Linked DNA regions of Homo sapiens: region 2 is linked to region 1. Evidence: promoter capture Hi-C in human tissues and cell types (Jung and others, 2019). All regions are on one chromosome and are shown on one strand. Each heading gives the region's core, a stretch centred on a gene start or on the middle of the fragment in contact. The rest is flanking DNA. Distances are from core to core; before and after follow the strand shown.

What was found. Contacts are between HindIII fragments. The study calls those that stand out against the background at their distance.
Region 2: a contact is called between a fragment that was not itself captured here and the fragment with the promoter of CDKL3 in region 1, in 1 of the 25 tissues and cell types used here (pancreas).

What each region holds. Positions count from the first base shown.
Region 1 is chr5:134,365,185-134,369,685 of GRCh38, reverse strand. CDKL3 (cyclin dependent kinase like 3) reads left to right here and starts at 2,515. Exons shown (of 13, transcript NM_001113575.2): 1 at 2,515-2,709; 2 at 3,142-3,327. The coding sequence starts at 3,163. The HindIII fragment of the contact is 10,082 bases long and covers 1-4,501 here.
Region 2 is chr5:134,319,779-134,324,614 of GRCh38, reverse strand. CDKL3 (cyclin dependent kinase like 3) reads left to right here. Exons shown (of 13, transcript NM_001113575.2): 5 at 2,712-2,824. Among named protein-coding and RNA genes, the nearest start is that of CDKL3, 45 kb to the left of the region's middle. The HindIII fragment of the contact is 3,004 bases long and covers 335-3,338 here.

The DNA of each region.
Region 1 (4,501 bases), core at 1,266-3,765:
GGCAGAAGAATCGCTTGAGACGAGGAAGTTGAAGCTGCAGTGAGCCATCATCATGCCACTGAGACCCTGCCTCAAAAAAATCCCGCAACAACCAAAAAAACCCTTGTAATTTATCAGTCAAGGCAGTCACTGAAAGCAGAGACAGAATTCAGGGTTTGAAGAAAGGGAGGTACAAGGAAAGTGGGAAAAGTTAACCCTTTCTGGTTCCATGGAACTATGGGCAAGATTAGGGCAATGCTGAGGTCCTCCTCCTACCCCCTCTTTCCCTGTTGAGCTGACGAATGGATACAAAAGTGCTCAGAGTCCTCCTGACCCACCAACGAAGTCCTGAAGATGGGAACTGGAGGCAATAGAGGTAAGGAATTCAGAGACTACAGGGATTTATAATTGTTTTGGAAACAGTTTATTATTTTCCAAAATGATATAACACTTTTAACTGATTCAGTGAATGTGCATCATAAAGTCTTACAGCTGTGTATTAGCAAGAATCACTGGCTGTCCTTGTTAACCAGGCCTGCCATAACCTACTTGTAGAAGGAATAATTTTAAAGCTATTAACTGTATGCTGTTATCAGTTCTGTAGCTCTGGATTATGAGTTCATTGAGGGCAGGGACTCAGTTTGGTTCATCTTTGTCCTGGGCAAATTTTTTTATTTTTTGAGACAGAGTTTTGCTCTGTCACCCAGGTTGGAGTGCAGTGGTGTGAACAGGGCTCACTGCAGCCTTGACCTTCTGGGCTCCAGTAATTCTCCTTCAGACGCCCAAGTAGCTGGGACCACAGGTGTGCACCACCATGCCCGGCTAATTTTTTGTAGAGATGGAGTTTTGCCCTCTTGCCCAGGCTGGTCTGGAACTCCTGGGCTCAAGTGATCTGCCCACCTTGGCCTCCCTGGGATTACAGGTGTGAGCCACTGTGCGCAGCCTCCTTGCAAATATTTAGCCCACAACAAATAATATGCTTACACCAAGTTTGAGCCCACTATAAGATTTACTATGACATTCTTATTTATAGAAGGTATTTTATATTGTGGTTGAATAACTTTCTTTTTTTTTTTTTTTTTTTTTTTGAGATGGAGTCTCGCTCTGCCACCCAGGCTGGAATGTAGTGGTGCGATCTCCGCTCACTGCAAGCTCCGCCTCCCGGATTCACGCCATTCTCCTGCCTCCGCCTCCCGAGTAGCTGGGACTACAGGCGCCCGCCACCACGCCCAGCTAATTTTTTCTATTTTTTAGTAGAAATGGGGTTTCACCGTGTTAGCCAGGATGGTCTCGATCTCCTGACCTCGTGATCCGCCCGCCTGGGCCTCCCAAAGTGCTGGGATTACAGGCGTTAGCCACTGCGCCCGTCTGAATAACCTTCAAAGAAAAGACAATTCTGAATATTTTAGGTGATCAATGAAAACGATGACCACTTCTCCTTTCTCTCAATATAAACCCTAGCAGCATAGAAAAAACTTGAGAAGCTTCAAAAATACTAATTTATTTACGCTATCCCAATTAAATCAGGTGCTCTGGCATTGGGGCAGGGGTGTGGAGGTGGGGGTTGGGATGCTTTCTAAAAGCTCTCCAGGTGTGATTTAAATATGCATGCTGGGTGGGACCCACCAGACTAGATTTATTAAATAATGCCTTTCCTCTTATTTAGCGGAAGCATAGCGAGATTTCGCTTTTTTACATTTAACTCATTTTATAGAAGAAAGCAAAGAAAGCCCTATTCAATAAAGAAAGCACTCCCTAGGCACTTGGTCTAGTGATATGGTGGTTATTCATTAGGGACTGTCATTCCAGTTGAACTCTATGTCTACTTAAGCAGTTAGACACTGGCCTCTTTATTTCCGTGCTCTTGTACATCATTTCGTATATGGTGGAACTCTTCGAATTACTTGCTTTCCTAGAGTTTGACATGTGGTGAGGGAGGTTTTTTTTCTTTAAAAAAGATTACTAGCAGTTGGAAAAAATTAAAAGGCATATGGCAAGTGTTCAAGAAAAGTTTTTGATTTAAGAACCATCTTGACCGGGGGCGGTGGCTTACGCCTGTAATCCCAGCACTTTGGGAGGCCGAGGCAGGCGGATCACCTGATGTTGGGAGTTCGAGACCAGCCTGGCCAACATGGTAGAAACCCCGTCTCTACTAAAAATACAAAATTATCCGGGCGTGGTGGCACACGCCTGTAATCCCAGCTACTCGGGAGGCTGAGGCAGGAAAATCACTTAAACCTGGAAGGAGGAGGTTGCAGTGAGCCAAGATCAGCGACACTGCAGTCCAGCCTGGGCGACAGAGCTAGACTATCTCAAAAAAAAAAAAAAAAAAAAAAAAGATGCAGATCCTTCCTATCCACATTCAAAAGCAACCTTGTGAGGAGGCTCAGCTGCGACAGCAATCTGTACTCCCCTCCCCCATTCCCAAGCACAGCACTCTTCCACCTTGCGCCTACCCAGAGTAGGTTTCCGTTTCTTCCCACTTCCCCTTCCGGGTCGGGACCCTGCCCATGTTCCGGTCTTGCGCACGAGTCTAGAACGCAGCAACTCCGCCGGCGTTTCCATGGTGGCAAGTGGCCGGTTCCTTGCGGGGCTGAGCAACAAAGTAGTATCAGTGTTCGGTGGCTCCACTGGAACTACGCAGAGCCAGACCAGCGGGACCACAGAATGGGCTGAGGCGGCGGCGGCTGTTTGGATAAAGTCAACAGCGGGACGTGGGGCGTGACGCCGGTCCGGCATCCTAAGACGTGTGGTTTGAGTTGCGGGCGAGACCAGGCTTTTTTTAGGACCTTGGGCCTGATAAGTGGGCGACTGCAGTAGTGCGGGAACCTATTATTTGACAGGAACATGACAGGAAGTGTAGGGACCCCATGCTTGATGGATGGTGACTTATAGTGTGGTAGTCTCAGTGTTGATGGGCATGACCGAGACAGCAGGAGTACCCCTAAGTTCTGGTGAGAGGTGGAGCCTCAGAAGGACACCTTACTCAAGCTGTCTTTAGTTCCCAAAGACAAAAAGGCTCAGTGGAAAAGATTCCTTTTTTTTTTTTAATGTCTCTATATTTGAGACTGTGGGTTTATTGTGGATATGCATTATCTAGTTTTAATAAATAAAAGTATAAACGTTTAACATTTTCCATTTTCTTTCTTTATTTCTATAAAGTAGTAAAAGCCCAGCTTGAAAATGGAGATGTATGAAACCCTTGGAAAAGTGGGAGAGGGAAGTTACGGAACAGTCATGAAATGTAAACATAAGAATACTGGGCAGATAGTGGCCATTAAGATATTTTATGAGAGACCAGAACAATCTGTCAACAAAATTGCGATGAGAGAAATAAAGTTTCTAAAGGTTTGCTTCTTTTGCCTTAATCATCTAAGTCAAAAGAAAAAATTGTTATGGAATAAAAAATTGCATAAAATATTTTAGTTCACACGTACTGATTCATATTATGGAGAAACAAGTGTAATACTCTATCTTATCTACATTTTGTAATTTTATAGTGATACAAGATATATGTGTTTTGGGGTATGTAACAAAAGCTACACCAATATTGTTTAATAATTATTCAGAAATATTCAAGTATAATACTTAATAAAAATTTCTGCTATGTGCAAGGCATGGTGCTAGGTACTGAGACTATAAGGAGGTAAAAGATAGTTCCTGCCCTTAAAGACTTCTATAATTTAATCAGAAAGGAGAGTATATGAAAATCATACTGAATAAAAAGTGGCTCATAATAAATGCCAAGGAATCAACACAAAGTCCTTTCCCTGGTAGGGAAAGTTTTTTTGAGGAAATGGGACATGAATTTGGCTTTGAAGGATGTGGAGGGTTTAGATAAGAGGGAGAAACTGTTGTGTTCTAGGTTAGAGGAACAACATAAACTCAAAAGAGACTAAAGAAGGACAAAGGATAAAGGGCAAAGTGGAAAGGACAAAGAGCAAAGACATGTGCCTGTAGAGTTTTCTGAGCAGAATTGGAAAGAGGTATATTAGAACAGTAAATTGGAGGTAGATTTTAAAGTCTTTTAGGCTAAGGAGTCAAAACTTGATTTTGTAAGAGGTGGAAAGTCGTGAAGGTTTTGAATTCAGTGTAAAGAAATGTAAATTTTAATCTACCACTATTGTGCAGAATAGATTGGAGGACTAAGAGTAAAAATAGGTCTGTTAGGAGTTCAATTAAGGAATTTTGGAAAATGTCTGAGGACCCTTGCTAAAATGCAGCAATGTGAATGAAAAGTAAAGTTAGAACATGCTGTATTGTAAAAAACAAAAAAAAAAGACATGAGGCCGGGTGCGGTGGCTCACGCTTGTAATCCCAGCACTTTGAGAGGCCGAGGCGGGTGGATCACCTGAGGTCAGGGGTTCAAGACCGTCCTGGACAACATAGTGAAACCCCGTCTCTACTAAAAATTAAACAAAAAAAATTAAGGCCGGGTGCGGTGGCTCACGCTCCCAGCGCTTTGGGAGGCTGAGGCGGGTGGATCACGAGGTCAGGAGATCGAGACCATCCTGGCTAACGC
Region 2 (4,836 bases), core at 587-3,086, 44 kb after region 1:
CACATAGTATGTAGCTTTTTCAGACTGGCTTCTTTGACCTAGCAATATATATTTAAGGTTCCTCCTTTTTTTTTGGTATCTTGACAGCTCACTTCTCTTTTATTGCTAAATAATATTCCATTGTATGTATGTACCACAGTTTGTTTATCCACTCACCTATTGAAGGACATCTTTATTGCTTCCATGTGTTGGCAATTATGAAGCAAGCTGTTATAAGCATTCGTGTCCAGGTTTTTATGTGGACAGAAGTGTTCTACTCACTTGGGTAAATCCCAAGGAGAGCAATTGCTGGGTTGTATGGTAAGACTATGTTTAGCTTTGTTAGAAGCTGTCAAATTGTCCTCCAAAGTGACTGTGTAATTTTGTGTTTCTACCAGCAATGAATGAGAGTACCTGTTGTTTGCCATCCTCACCTGCATTTGATGTTGTCAGTATTTTGGATTTTAGGCATTCTAATAGGTGTGTAGTGGTATCTCGTTGTTTTAATTTGCAATTGTCTGATGACATATGATACTGGGCATCTGTTAATATGCCCATTTGCCATCTGTATATTTTCTTTGGTGAAATGTATATTCTTATATTTTGCCCATTTTTTAATTGGGTTATTTTCTTATTGAATTTTAAGAGTTTTATGTATTTTGGATACAAGTTCTTTATTATTTTGCAAATATTTTCTCGCAGTTTGTGGCTTGTCTTTTTATTTGCTTAACAGTATCTCTCATGGAGCAGAAAAGTTTAGTTTTAGTGAAGTTCTAACTATCAATTTTTTCTTTTGTGAATTATACTTTTGGTGTTGTATCTAAAAACTCATTACCAAACCTAAGGCCATCTAGATTTTTTCCTATGTGATTGTCTAGAGGTTTTACAGTTTTGCATTTTATATTTAGGTCTATCATCTATCTTGAGTTAATTTTTGTGAAAGGGATAAGGTCTGTGTCTAGATTCAGTTTTTTGTATGTTCCAGCACTATTTGTTGAAAAGACTGTCTTTTTTTTATCTTATTATTCAATTGCCTCTGTTCCTTTGTCAAAAATCAGTTGAGCACATTTGTGCAAGTCTATTTCTGGGTTCTTTATTCTGTTCCCTTGATCTATTTATCTATTCTTTCACCAATACCATACTATCTTGCTTGTTGTATAAAACATCTTGAAGTCAAGTAGTGTCAGTCTTTGTTCTTTTTCAAATTGTGTTGGCTATTCTGGGTCTATTGCCTCTCCATATAAACTTTGCAATCAATTGTCAATATCTACAAAACAATTTCCTAGGATTTTTAAAAATTTACAGATTAAATTGTATGTATTTATTGTGTACAGCATGATGTTTTGAGGTATATATATACGTTGTGAAATGACTAAATTTGGCTAATTTACATATGTGTGTTACCTCACATAATTATCAATTTTTAATTTACTGGGATTTTGTCTGGGATTGTATTGACTCTACATAAAGCTTGGAAGAACTGACATCTTGACAATATTGAGTCTTCCTATTGATGAACATGGAGTATCTCTCCATTTATTTAGATCTTTTATTTCTTTCATGAATGTTGCTTTTTTCACTTGACAGTTTATCTTGGAGATCATTCCATTTCAGCACATATAGATAGACCTACCTCATCAATTTTTTTTTTTTTTTGAGACTGAGTTTTGCTCTTGTTGCCCAGGCTAGAGTGCAATGGCATGATCTCGGCTCACCACAACCTCCACCTCCCGGGTTCAAGTGATTTTCCTGCCTCAGCCTCCTGAGTAACTGGGATTACAGGCATGTGCCACCACACCCGGCTAATTTTGTATTTTTAGTAGAGACGAGGTTTTTCCATGTTGGTCAGGCTTGTCTCGAACTCCTGACCTTGTGATCTGCCTGCCTTGGCCTCCCAAAGTGCTGGGATTACAGGCATGAGCCACAGTGTCCAGCCAGACCTCATCATTTTTAACAGATGAATAATATTTTATTGTGGGGTTGTACAAAAATTTTCTTAGCCATTCCCTTATAGGTGGAGGTCTAGGTTGTTTCCAATCTTTTTCTTCTACGAACAGTGCTGCAGTGAAATTCTCATATAATTTATATTTGTGCACACATGTGAGTATATCTTAGGATAAATTCCTAGGAATAAAATTGTACAATAAAAAATATATACAATTTAAATTTTGGTGGCTTTTGCCAATTTTTCCTCCAAAGAAGTCATATAAGTTTACACTCCCAGAACAGTACTTAGGACTATTCCTTTCCTATAGCCTCACCAATATAGCAATTACCAATTCTTATAAAGTCGGTATATGATCTACAATAAAAACTTACAAATGGGCCAGGCGTGGTGGCTCACACCTGTAATCCCAGCACTTTGGGAGGCTGAGGCGGGCAGATCACGAGGTCAGGAGTTTGAGACCAGCCTGGCCAACATGGTGAAACCCCATCTCTACTAAAAATACAAAAATTAGCCACATGTGGTGGCACACGCCTCTAATCCCAGCTACTTGGGAGGCTGAGGCAGGAGAATTGCTTGAACCCGGAGGTTGCAGTGAGCTGAGATTGCAGCACTTGCACTCCAGCCTGGGTGACAGAGCAAGACTCGGTCTCGAAAAAAAACAAAACAAAACTTAAAATGATACTACTTGTTTCTTTAGCCTTGGCCTTCTTTAAACATATTTTTAAGAATATATTTATAAATTTCTACATGAAAAAGTGATTTTTTTTTCCCTGATCTGTTTCAGACCTGTGGATATCTGGGCTTTGGGCTGTATGATCATTGAGATGGCCACTGGAAATCCCTATCTTCCTAGTAGTTCTGATTTGGATTTACTCCATAAAATTGTTTTGAAAGTGGGTAGGTATTACTGAAATAACATGAGTTACATGTCTAAAATAAATATTGCCAGATCAATTCTGCTTGATTTTCAAATTTAGCTTTTCTGTGTAAGTACAGGGAAGCATATTGTTTTGATAGATGGCAGCAGATGGGTTCCTTGGGCTGATAAAGAAGGCAGAAAATTCTCTGCTTTAGCAAATAATATTTTCTTTGCTAGGATGCAAATAGCTAAGCCATATGTTGATGGTTGATGCTAAGAAAAATAGTACAATAGGAATGTACTTTAATTTGTCTAAAAGTTGTTTTTAAATTAGGCTTCTACAAATATCTGTACCTTTATATAAGGACTTTAAATAGTAGAGTTGAGTCAGATGCTTTTTTAAAGCACTTGGAAATAGAAAAGTAATTATTTACTCAGAAACCACCCTTCTTTTTAAAGAAAACAATAATAGACAGCCAGATAGCTAAATAACTTATTCAAGAACATATTTGATGAAGGCTGGGCATGGTGGCTTACACCTGTAATCCCTGCACTTTGGGAGGCCAAGGCAGGCGGAGCACCTGAGATCAGGAGTTGGAGACCAACCTGACCAACATAGTGAAACCCCATCTCTACTAAAAATACAAAAAAAATTAGCCAGGTATGGTGACGAGTGCCTGTAATCCCAGTTACTCAGGAGGCTGAGGCATGAGAACTGCTTGAACCCAGGAGGCAGAGGTTGCAGTGAGCCACGATCACGCCACTGCACTCCAGCCTGGGCAACAGAATGAGACTTAGTCTCAAAAAAAAAAAAAAAAAAAAAGAATATGTTTGATGAGAGTTTAATTATTTGATGATCTGCTTTGGCCACCAAAACATTATGATGGTTAGCCTTGAATGTGCTATTTCAAGATTTGTGGGTTTTTTAAATTTTAAATTTAATTTTTTTTTTTTTGAGAGGGAGTCTCGCTCTGTCACCCAGGCTGGAGTGCAGGGGCGCGATCTCAGCTCACTGCAAGCTCTGCCTCCTGGGTTCATGCCATTCTCCTGCCTCAGCCTCCCGAGTAGCTGGGACTACAGGTGCCTGCCACCACACCTGGCTTTTTTTTGTATTTTTAGCAGAGACGGGGTTTCACTGTGTTAGCCAGGATGGTCTCGATTTCCTGACCTCGTGATCCACCCACCTGGGCCTCGCAAAGTGCTGGGAATACAGGCATGAACCACCGCGCCCGGCTAAATTTTAATTTTTTTGAGACAGGGTCTCACTTTGTCACCTGGGTTGGAGTGCACTGGTGCAATCATGGCTCACTGTAGCCTTGACTTCCTGGGCTCAGGTGATTCTCCCACCTCAGCCTGCTGAGTGGCTGGGACTACAGGCACGTGCCATCATCCCCGGCTAATTTTTGCGTTTTTAGTGCAGCCGCGGTTTTGCCATGTTGCCCGACTCGGCCTCCCAAAGTGCTGGGATTACAGGCGTGAGCCACCATGGCTGGCCAAGATTTGTTTTTTATTATTTGTGGATGAGGAGCTTGAGAAGCTCTTTGTGTGGTGGGGAAGATATGCATAAATTTGTAATTACAGGATTATGAGGAAGATACTATGAACAATTCTAAAAACAGTGAAATCTGGATAATTACTGATTTAAGAAATAGTTTAGAGCCTTAAGACACCTCACATTTTTGTGTCTTTTAAGAAGTTCTAGTTAAGAGATTAATATTAGAAGGAACCTTAGATGGTGGGGTTTAATCCTATCATTTCACAGATGAGAAAACCAAGCACAAGAAAGCAAGAGATTTACCCAAGGTCACAGAACTAGTTATAGCAAAACTGCTAGAACTTAGTTCCCTCCACTCATATTTATAGTTCTTTCCATTCTGCTACTACTCTCTAGCCTTGTTTCTTTTTTTGCAATATTTTGATTTCTACATACCTTTAATATTTTAGCTGTTTTGAGTAAGGTTTCAATGTATTTTGCTGATGAACACTTAATAGTAAAATCATTTGGATACCCATATGGAAATGCGTAAAAGTTGGAATATGCATTTTCTGA